Regions from separate parts of the Homo sapiens genome. Here region 2 is linked to region 1. Evidence: promoter capture Hi-C in 16 types of primary human blood cells and fetal thymus (Javierre and others, 2016). All regions are on one chromosome and are shown on one strand. The core of a region is centred on a gene start or on the middle of the fragment in contact, and the rest is flanking DNA. Distances in the headings are between cores, read along the strand shown. Region 1 holds the start of PTPN18 (protein tyrosine phosphatase non-receptor type 18). Region 2 overlaps DDX18 (DEAD-box helicase 18).

The links. The method cuts DNA at HindIII sites, captures the fragments that hold promoters and counts their contacts. A CHiCAGO score of 5 or more calls a contact.
Region 2: a contact is called between a fragment that was not itself captured here and the fragment with the promoter of PTPN18 in region 1, in 1 of 17 cell types (naive CD8 T cells). The highest score is 5.7, in naive CD8 T cells.

Annotation. Positions count from the first base shown.
Region 1 is chr2:130,352,299-130,357,691 of GRCh38, forward strand. PTPN18 (protein tyrosine phosphatase non-receptor type 18) reads left to right here and starts at 3,758. Exons shown (of 15, transcript NM_014369.4): 1 at 3,758-3,902. The coding sequence starts at 3,810. RefSeq lists silencers at 3,338-4,007, 4,148-4,197. The HindIII fragment of the contact is 15,291 bases long and covers 2,023-5,393 here.
Region 2 is chr2:117,819,940-117,824,997 of GRCh38, forward strand. It overlaps DDX18 (DEAD-box helicase 18), which reads left to right. Exons shown (of 14, transcript NM_006773.4): 4 at 1,222-1,357; 5 at 1,711-1,811; 6 at 1,923-2,122; 7 at 2,208-2,322; 8 at 4,630-4,769; 9 at 5,001-5,058. Among named protein-coding and RNA genes, the nearest start is that of DDX18, 7.8 kb to the left of the region's middle. RefSeq lists silencers at 645-694, 705-774. The HindIII fragment of the contact is 245 bases long and covers 1,129-1,373 here.

The sequences.
Region 1 (5,393 bases), core at 2,508-5,007:
TTTCCCATGGAGCGATCAGGAGGAGTCTTTGATTCAGAACACTGAAACCTGGCACGCCTGAGGAGAGTTAGAGGAGACAGGAACAAAAGCTCTCCCAGAGGACTTAGAGCTCTCAGGCATCGGACGGGAGGGGGACACAGCCACATGCTTCCTCTTGCACTGAAGAGGGTTGCCTTTTTCCTGTTTGCTAAATGCCAGACTTGTGGATGGACCAACAGGACAACTTGCCCAGCTTGAAGGTTTTTAACAGAATGAAGCAATGGGAAAATGTTTTCAAATTTATGCCCCCCCTTCCACTTTTGTTTTAACTTAGAGGAGGGAGTAAGGAGGTGGGCGTGGCAATATCAGAAAGGGAAACTAGCAGTGTAATAATAATATTAATAGTACCAAGTGTATACTGCAAGCCAAGTGCTGTTCTATCTAAATGCTTTATATACAATGATTTCCTTAAATTCTCACAATAAAGCAACAAGAAGAGACACAGTCCTACAGAGGAGGAAATTGAGACATAGAAATTAAATGACTTGCCCAAGGTCATACTGAGAAAGTCATGGTGCCAGAATTCTAACTCAAACATTTTGGTTCCAGTCTTCTGCCCTTTTTTTATTTTTATTTATTGATTTTTTTTTTTTGAGGCGGAGTCTTGCTCTGTCGCCCAGGCTGGAGTGCAGTGGCACAATCTCGGCTCACTGCAAGCTCCGCCTCCCGGGTTCAAGCCATTCTCCTGCCTCAGCCTCCCGAGCAGCTGGGACTACAGGTGCCCGCCACCACGCCCGGCTAATTTTTTGTACTTTTAATAGAGAACGGGGTTTCACTGTGTTAGCCAGGATGGTCTCTGCCCTTTTTTAACTAAGCAAAAAAGGAAGCTGGAGAAGAACTGTACCCTGGAGATGCCAGCAGTCTCCAAGGAGCTCCCCGCAAGCATCCCAGAGGAAGGGGTGTCTGCCAGGGGTCTCCACTGTAGTTTCTCTTTTCCCCTTTGCAGGCTCAGAGCAGGCTGAACTCACAGCCTTGTGCACCTGTCCCTGTGCATCTTCCTCTACCTTGTCCTCTTGGCTCTGTTGAGCGGCCCATGTAGCCACACTGACTGGTGGGCAGGTGACAGACTGGCACATGGCACGTGGGCTTTGGTACACTTGGGGTCTCTGTAGCAGTGCCAGCAGCTCCCACTGTGCAAGACTGCTGCTGGCAGCGTGAACAGGAGGGCCACCAGCAGCAGTGAGTCTCATTGCAAGAACACAGCTGGCAGTCCTCCGGGAGAGAAAAGCCGGGGTGGGCCAGGGCCTCTGGAAGATGTGGGGTCTTCCCATCCCCCACACCTAGCCTGAGCTGAACAGAGGGCAAGCTAAGAGTTTGGATGTTTGGAGAGACATGAGGAACGGTCAGGTGTCAGGAGGACAGGTGGGTTAAACAACAAGGTGGGGCTTGGAGTGAGGGTGAACACGAGGACAGAAAGACACTCAAGGCAGCTGGAAGTACAAATGGCAGACTACAGCCTCAGCCACTTAATGTTCACAGGCCACAAGGCAGCATCTGGCTAGTCACTCAGATCCTCTAATAGACAAACCACCAAACACACACACACACACACACACACACACACACCCTGGCTGGACAGACTTCCAGATGGACAGAATCCCAGGGAAACACCCAGCTGGACAAACAGACAGATTACTGACAGATGGGTAGACCCTCAGCCAGACATCCAAATAGGCCTGTGGCCAGAGAGACACCTGGGCCCCCCAGCCAGGCAAAGGTCAGAATCCCTCAAGGACAGGTGCCCTCCCCAAAATGGACAGAGACATTACCCCAGAGGAGAGAACACCCCACCCACCTAGTCAACCAGACCTTCAGCTGGACGACATGCCCTCCACCAGTCAGACAGACCTCAGCCTATGAGGACAGGCCCTCAACAGGATCCCTGCTGCTGGACAGAGATCCTCTAGCCCATAAAGACTGCCCTGAATAACCATGTGTGCTCAGGGGCTCACATTTTCCCAGAAAATGTCTTTATTTTCTGAAAGCTTACTGATGCTTCTGTATTCTACCTCCCTGGATCTCCATGGCCATCCACAAACCCTCAATGATTATACTGAGAGTCACTATCATGCACTGAGCAGAGCTCTCAATGACTTCCCAGACTCTTCGGACCCTTCAATTACTAACACTCCAAATCCCAATGGCCCCACAATTACTTTCACTTCTTGTCCCAAGTATCCACTGGCCTCCCAATGACTGTCATTAATATCTACTGACACCCCCCCCCCCATGAACATCCAAGGGACCCCGACTGGCTTCCAATGAATTCCCTATCACCACCATCCTAAACAATTACCTCCCTGAGAATGCTCAAAGATGAAACTGATAAATGATGAACATGAATCTCACAGTGACCCCTGCGGACCCCACGATAAATCAAACAGCCCTAGCTGCTGATCCCCACAGAGCCACTTTGATCGCTCCATCACTTCAGCCAAGGTCAGCAAACGACAGCCTGTAGGCCACACACACACACTAGAATAATTCATGACACATGAACATTACATGAAATTCTGATTTCTTTGTCCATAAATGGTTTCTTTGGGACACAGCCACACTATATTGTCTGCTTTCATGCTGCCACAGCTGAGTTAAGCAGCTGGGGCAGCGATAGCAAAGCCAAAACCACTTCCTACCGGGACCTTTAAGAAAGTGTGCCCTTAAATACTCTGATAGCCCCTAGTGAATTAAATTGACCACCTGACATCATGCCCCTGTTGACCCTTCAGAGACTCAGGCACACATCCAGGCCCCAATGCTACCTTTCAACCCCTCAACGACCTCAAACTGGTGTCCACTGACGCCCCTTCCAGTGACACCCCTCTTAATTCTTCCGACCTCGGCGAGAAGGGGGCTAACCTAGGCCTGTCCTTGAAGAGACCCAGGTGCCAGTCCATTCTCTCCAGCCTCCCCTCGGTGATCCCGGAAGCTGGAACGGCGGCTCTCCTCTGACCTCTGCACACTTTCTGAAGATGGGAGTGTCAGGGCAGGCAAAAAAGAGAAGCTCTTCGTTCCCCAGAACCCACTTCCAGTGCCTCAGTTCTGTTTCCCAGCAGGCTTGTGCAGGTCGAGATGCTCACACAGGACTGACCCTGGTGCCCCAGCGCATCCGGGAAAAAGGAACCACAAATTCCTCGGGAAATACACAGAGAAGATCCCGCTGCCACTTGGCCTTTCCCACGGCGTGGCTGCCCCTCCCCGGCCTCCCTTGGGCCCGGCTGGAGCGCACAGCGCGGGACGCCCCCGACCCGGGGTCCTCTGGCACGAGGGGCAGCCTGATCTCGGCGACCGTCTCCACCCAAGGCTGCTGCCCGCCCCAGCTCGGACTCCGCGCGGCCTGGCTCCCAGGGGACGGGCGGGAGGGCCCGGCGAGACCGCTCGGCCGTCCACCCAGAGCCGGCACCCGGAGGTCGGCCCCTGGGCGCGGATCCCGATCTGAGGGCGGGTCCCAAGCGGCAGGGAGCGAACCTGGGACCGTGCCACCCCCCCACCAGTGGGCGCGGCAGCCGAAAAAAAGGGGAAGCGCCGGCGCTGGACTCTGCTCAGGGCAGCCCGCGAGGACCTAGGGCTCCGGCCACAGCGGCCCGAGCGCCCGGGGTGGGGCTACGCGGGCTCAGAACACGGTGGCTGGGGCGCCCTGCCCGCCGCTGCGCGCTTCCATTGGCTGCCGAGGCAAGGGCGGGGACTCAGTCACCGGCCTCCGCCTCCCGCGGCGTCCACACTCGCCGCGCGCGCGGCGGCCGGGCTGGACCTTGCTGGCCCGCGGCGCCATGAGCCGCAGCCTGGACTCGGCGCGGAGCTTCCTGGAGCGGCTGGAAGCGCGGGGCGGCCGGGAGGGGGCAGTCCTCGCCGGCGAGTTCAGCGTGAGTGGCACACGGGGTCCGCGAGCGGCGCGCCCCGGCCCTGGCCCTGCGTACGCCTGTCCTCCGCGCACGGCGGGCTCTGCCTTTCTGTCTCGGTGTCCCCGGTGTCTCCCCGCCTCGGGGGGTCTCTCCGTGTTTCTCTCCCCAGCACTTCTCTGTCGCTCTTGCTGTCTCCGTCTTCACTCTCTGCCCCCCGGCCCCGGAGCGCGACGTCCACGGCCAGGCCGGGACGGACCGTGCACACCCTCGTTCCCGGTGTCCTCGTCGCGCTCCCGGAACAACCTGGCTGCGGGCGGGACAGGTGGGGCGGGCGCCGCAGGGGAGGGCGGGCGGCCCTGCTGCGCTGGACAGCCCCGGCCCCGCCGCTTCTGGCGACCTGACTGTCCCCTGTGACCACAGGAAGGAAGGGGCTGCAGCAGGGCGAAGAGGAACACGGAGGCTGTGGCGTGGTGAGGGTGTGAACGCCGGGCTCGAATCCGCGTCCGGGCCCGAATCCGCTTCCCGTCCCGAATCCGCGTCCCGGCCATCCGCGTGTGGTCCAGGCGGTCTACCTGGCCCCTCTGACCTCGGCTTCTCCCTTGGTGAAATGGGGACATGAATGACCAAACTGGTCTAAGGATTAAATGATGTGGGTGAAAAGCACTTAGTACATATTGGGCGCACACTTCGTAGGGGCGTTCGTCACTGCCTATAAAGATTCTAAACGTGGGCCAGGTGCGGTGGCTCACACCTGTAATCCCAGCACTTTGGGAGGCCGAGGTGGGAGGATCGCTTGAGCTCAGGAGTTCGAGACCAGCCTGGGCAACACAGCGAAACCCCGTCTCTACTAAAAATACAAAAATCAACTGGGCATGGGCGCATGCCTGTAATCCCAGCTACTAGGGAGCAGAGACAGGGGACTCGCTTGAACCTGGGAGGCAGAGGTTGCAGTGAGCTGAGATGGTTCCACTGCACAGCTGAGATGGTGCCACTGCACTCCAGCCTGGGCCACAGAGTGAGATCCCATCTCAAACAAAACAAAACCAAACAAAAAATCTAAACGTTACAATACAGGTAGTGCAAGCCCAGCATTAGGAAGGCTCACGCAGAATGCTAGGCACTGTACATTACAGTTGATGACGTGTTTAAAGTGTAATCGCTTATGTACCAGACATAGAAACATACCATACAAACGCATAAACTGATATATGGTGACATGTATCAAGTTTAGAAATATGACAAATATATAAAAGTATTATAAATGACCGTTTATACAATAAACATTGCATAACTGCATAAAACAATACAACAAATGAATATAACAAAGATTATAATTTATAAAATGACCAAAGTTATTTGATAAATTCATAAGTAGATATAAAATATGTAACAGATGGCCGGGCACGGTGGCTCACGCCTATAATCCCAGCACTTTGGGAGGCCGAGGCGGGCGGATCACGAGGTCAGGAGATCCACACCATCCTGGCTAACACGGTGAAACCCCGTCTCTAC
Region 2 (5,058 bases), core at 1-2,500, about 13 Mb before region 1:
TTTTCTCTTTATCTTCTATTTTGTGGTGTTTTAGTTCTTTTTGTTCCCTGTTTTTTTCCTTTTGTTCATTCCTGACACCAAATATTTTATATGCACACTAGCAGCTTCTAGGATTCCTTGGTTTGTCCTTTTCTGAGTCTCATTCTATGTTGTAATAGGAAAATGATTGGCCCTGTACGAGGTTAACCTCCTTTGGCCTTTGTTCCTTTATAAAGTTGAGTTTAGGCTAGAATTCACTGCTCCTAACCAGATATGTCTAGGAGTTACTTGAGTTGTTTATTTGGTTTGGGTTGGTTGGTTTGTTAAAATGTTGAGGCCCAACCCTAGACCTGCTTAATCCAAATTGCAAACGTTTTGGTAGTAGCTCTCGAGCAGGGAAATTCGCCCCCCGAGTAAGAAGAGTAACTCTTCCTGGTTTGCCCAGAACTTTAACAGTTTTAGCACTGAAAGTTCTGAATCCCAAGAATCTCCTCTGTCCCTAGCCTACTGAGAAGATTGGTCATCCTAAGCCTAGGAGACATTTTTGGTTCTCAGAGCTAGGAGCAGTCTGCTGGGATCTGGTGAGTAGAGGTCAGAAACACTGCATAATATCTTATAAGGCACAGGATAGTGTTTCACAGCAAAGAATTATTCAGCCCAGATGTCAGCAATGCCAAGGTCAAGAGTGATTGGTTTACACCCTGGGCATGTGGAGTATGGGGAACCCCCAGGTGATTTTGATGCCTTCTGCTGAACCACCACTGTATTACTTGATACGTAGGCTCAGCCTAACATTCTGTGGCTGTATCTGACTCTTCTGTGTCTTGTTGGAGTGAGATTAACAGGTTTTTTTTTTATTATTGACTTCACACTCAGTTTTTATTAATGCTCAATGTTTTCACTTTTATATCAGATTTCTTAAACATTTCATTTATCTCTGGACTCTCATTATTTTCCTTGTTTTGGTATTTTTATTTTATATAAATTCCTTGGTTATACCTCCTCTCTACCCCTTGTTTTGTTATAGTATGGTCTCTGGACTATAACTCACACAGCCGTTAACAGTGGAGAAACTTGAAAGATATAGGGTCTTTTTCTTGATATTATCACATATGAATAATTAAGGTTTAGCCTTTTCTTACTGCGGGAAGCTTTTCTAAGCAAAATAGATTTAGGCAACTGTAGCAATACTTTTTTAAAAAAAAAGATAAATTTGCTAATGATAAATTGTCTTCTGTTTAGGAGCTTTTGAGGATACTTCGTTTGCTTCTCTATGTAATCTTGTCAATGAAAACACTCTGAAGGCAATAAAAGAAATGGGTTTTACAAACATGACTGAAATTCAGCATAAAAGTATCAGACCACTTCTGGAAGGCAGGTATGATTAACATTGAAGCTTAGATATTGGCATCTATTTTTAGAACTAGTAGATGATAAAGAACATACCAGTATATTCTGTTGATTTTGTACTATATGTTGGGTCATGTATCCAGCATACATTAAAGGCTTTAAGTTAATTACTGATGTTTGAAGGAAAGTGTTCGAAAGGTGTTCTGCTTCTGTTGTAGCACAGTTCTGACTTATGATTTCAGTATATAACCCAGGTGATCAATTTCAGCACTGTAGACGTTTCTTGTTCATGTTCTAGCCGTAGTGCCTAAGGTGTGTGTATGTAGTACGTCGTAAATGAGTAGGCTAAATGTCTTTCTCCTTTCCCTTTTTAATATTTAGGGATCTTCTAGCAGCTGCAAAAACAGGCAGTGGTAAAACCCTGGCTTTTCTCATCCCTGCAGTTGAACTCATTGTTAAGTTAAGGTTCATGCCCAGGAATGGTAAGCGTTCATCTGCTTGTTTCTGCCATTATTTCACTAGAGGTTTATTGTAGCTGTTACGGACTCAGTGGTGACAGCCACATTTAGACTTCTACCATATATCATTTTTAGGAACAGGAGTCCTTATTCTCTCACCTACTAGAGAACTAGCCATGCAAACCTTTGGTGTTCTTAAGGAGCTGATGACTCACCACGTGCATACCTATGGCTTGATAATGGGTGGCAGTAACAGATCTGCTGAAGCACAGAAACTTGGTAATGGGATCAACATCATTGTGGCCACACCAGGCCGTCTGCTGGACCATATGCAGGTAAGAGATGTAGTGCTTGTCTCATTGTCTTGTATGAAACATAAACTGACAACTAATGGTTGTTCTTTGTCCTTTGTTTTGTTAGAATACCCCAGGATTTATGTATAAAAACCTGCAGTGTCTGGTTATTGATGAAGCTGATCGTATCTTGGATGTGGGGTTTGAAGAGGAATTAAAGCAAATTATTAAACTTTTGCCAAGTAAGTAGGTAGCATCTGCATTTGGTTTGCAAAGTATCTGTTGGAGGTAGATAAGAGTTGTTCCTATAGAAAAACTGTACTAATGCCAGAACTTTACCATAGCCAAGTGAGGTAGTTGTGCCAATTAACCCGAAAGGTAATTTGGAATACAAGCATCAAATGTATTATAACTTGATATAATAGTTTTGCTGTTTTAGAAGTTATAAGGCACGTTAAGCAGTCTTCACATAGGTCCTGTCCTCCACCTCTTGCCCATTCTTACCTCATCTAACATCCCCCAAGAAGCCGCAGATTTTTTGCCTTACTTGTACATACCTTGGTTATAGTACTTGCAACATTATGAACTGGTTATAACTAAGACCATGGTTTCCTTCATTATATAATTTATTTTTAAAAGCTTTGTCAAAGTATAATTATATCTACCCATTTATAATGTACAATTTGATGTTCTTTGATTTGTTTACCACTGTGACATCATCGCTGCAATCAAGAAAATGAACATGTCCATCACAGTCAAAGGTTTCCTCCTGCCCCTTTTCAATTTCTCCCTCCCACCCCTCCTTACACGTATACCTTGTCCCCAGGTGAGTATTGATCTGTTTTCTGCTGCTAGATTAGGTTGCATTTTCTGGAAATAAAGTTGCTGTGAACAGTCATCTACAACTCTTTGTAGAGGCATATATCTCCTTTTCTCTTAAGTAAACCTAGGAGTGTCCTAGTTGGTATATGTTTAGTGTATGTTTAACTTTTTAAAAAACTGCCAGATGTTTTCCAAAGCGGCTGTACCATTTAACATTCCTATGAGCAGTGTATGAAAGTTCCAGTTCCTCCTATTAAGTCTTGACCATCAGGTAATGTTAGCCCCAAGTTTGTTCTCTTTTAAAGTTGTGGTATTCTTGTCCTTTGCTTTTCTATATAAATTTTAGAATTGGTTTGTCAGTTTCTCCCCCTTCCCTCCAAAAAAGTCTCAGATCTTGACTGAGATTTTATTGAATAGAGATTATTGGAGGAAGACAGTATTGAGTCATGTAACCCATAATAAGGTATATCTCCATGTATTCGATATTTTCTCTATCATATTTAGGGGGGTTCGGGATACAGGTTTATTCACATCTTTTGTCAGATTTATCTCTGAGTGTTTCATTAAAATTTCAAGTTCCAATTGCTCGTTGCTTTAATATATACATATATACACACACACATATACACACATATATATGCACACACAGTTGAATTTTATATTGATCTTGTATCTAGCAAGACAGTTAATCCTGTACCGAATGATTATTCAGTATGACTTTCCAGATGACTGTAGCCTTTTGGATTTTCTATATAGGCAATCATGTGCAGATAAAGACAGTTTCACCTCTTTATTTAATTTTTTTTTCCTGCCTGATTGCCCTGGCCAGAACCTCCAGTATGGTGCTGAATAGAAGTGGTGAGAGCAGACATCCTTATCTTGGTTCTGATCTTAGGGGAAAGCATTCAGTCTTTTACCATTAACTACATATGAAGTTAGCTGCAGGTTTTATATAGATGCCTTTTATCAGATTGAGGAAGATCCCTTCTGTTCCTAGTTTGCTGAGGATTTTTAATCAGAAATAGATGGTCAAATGTTTTTTTTCTGTCTGCTGAAATAATCATGTTTTTTCTTTAGTTAACATAGTGAATTGTATTGGTTGATTTTTCAAATGTTGAACCAACCTGCATTTCTAGAATAAACCTGATCCATTTCTAGAATAAACATGAGCCATTATCCTTTTTATATATTGCTGAATTCACTTTACTAAAATTCTATTTCAAATTTTGTATATGTGCTCACGAATTGTATTGGTCCATAGTTTTCTTGTCATGTCATGTCAGGTTTTTGTATAGTGTAATGACTGACTTCGAAGAATGAGTTGACATGTAAGCCCTCTTTTTAATTTATTGGAGAGTTTGTGAATAATTGATGTTTTTTTCTTAAATGTTCAGTAGAATTCACCAATGGAATCCATTTGGGCCTGGAATTTTCTTTACATGAAGGTTATAACTAAAATTTCTTTAGTAGATATAAGGCTATTTAAAGTTTTCCTATTTTCTTCAGTTGTTTGTCTTCAAAGGAGTTTGTCCATTTCATCTAAGTCCTCAAATTTATAGACCTAGTGTTTCATGATATACCCTTTTTACCTTTTGTAATATTTGTAGATTCTGTAGAAACATCATATCTCCCATTTCTGATATCTCTACCTAGAATATTTGTAGTTGTGAGGCAATTGTAAAGATTCCCTAAAAGATTGGGGTTATTTTTATATGTATCTGTTTCAGCACGTAGACAGACTATGCTCTTTTCTGCCACCCAAACTCGAAAAGTTGAAGACCTGGCAAGGATTTCTCTGAAAAAGGAGCCATTGTATGTTGGCGTTGATGATGATAAAGCGAATGCAACAGTGGATGGTCTTGAACAGGTACTTTTTATCAATAACTGAAAACTGTAGGGATCTTACTTGGTGTTTTTATGTAATTGTTGGAAGGATCATTCAGAAAGCAAATGGGTTAATGAACTTTTAAAATGCTGTAGGTGAGGCATGACAGTTTACACACTGTGTTTATCAGTGCTCTTGATGAAATTACACAAGTTAGGAAATGGAAAATGTCCACTTGGTTCATTTGTATCTGTCTGCTTAAACGCTTTCTAGGGATATGTTGTTTGTCCTTCTGAAAAGAGATTCCTTCTGCTCTTTACATTCCTTAAGA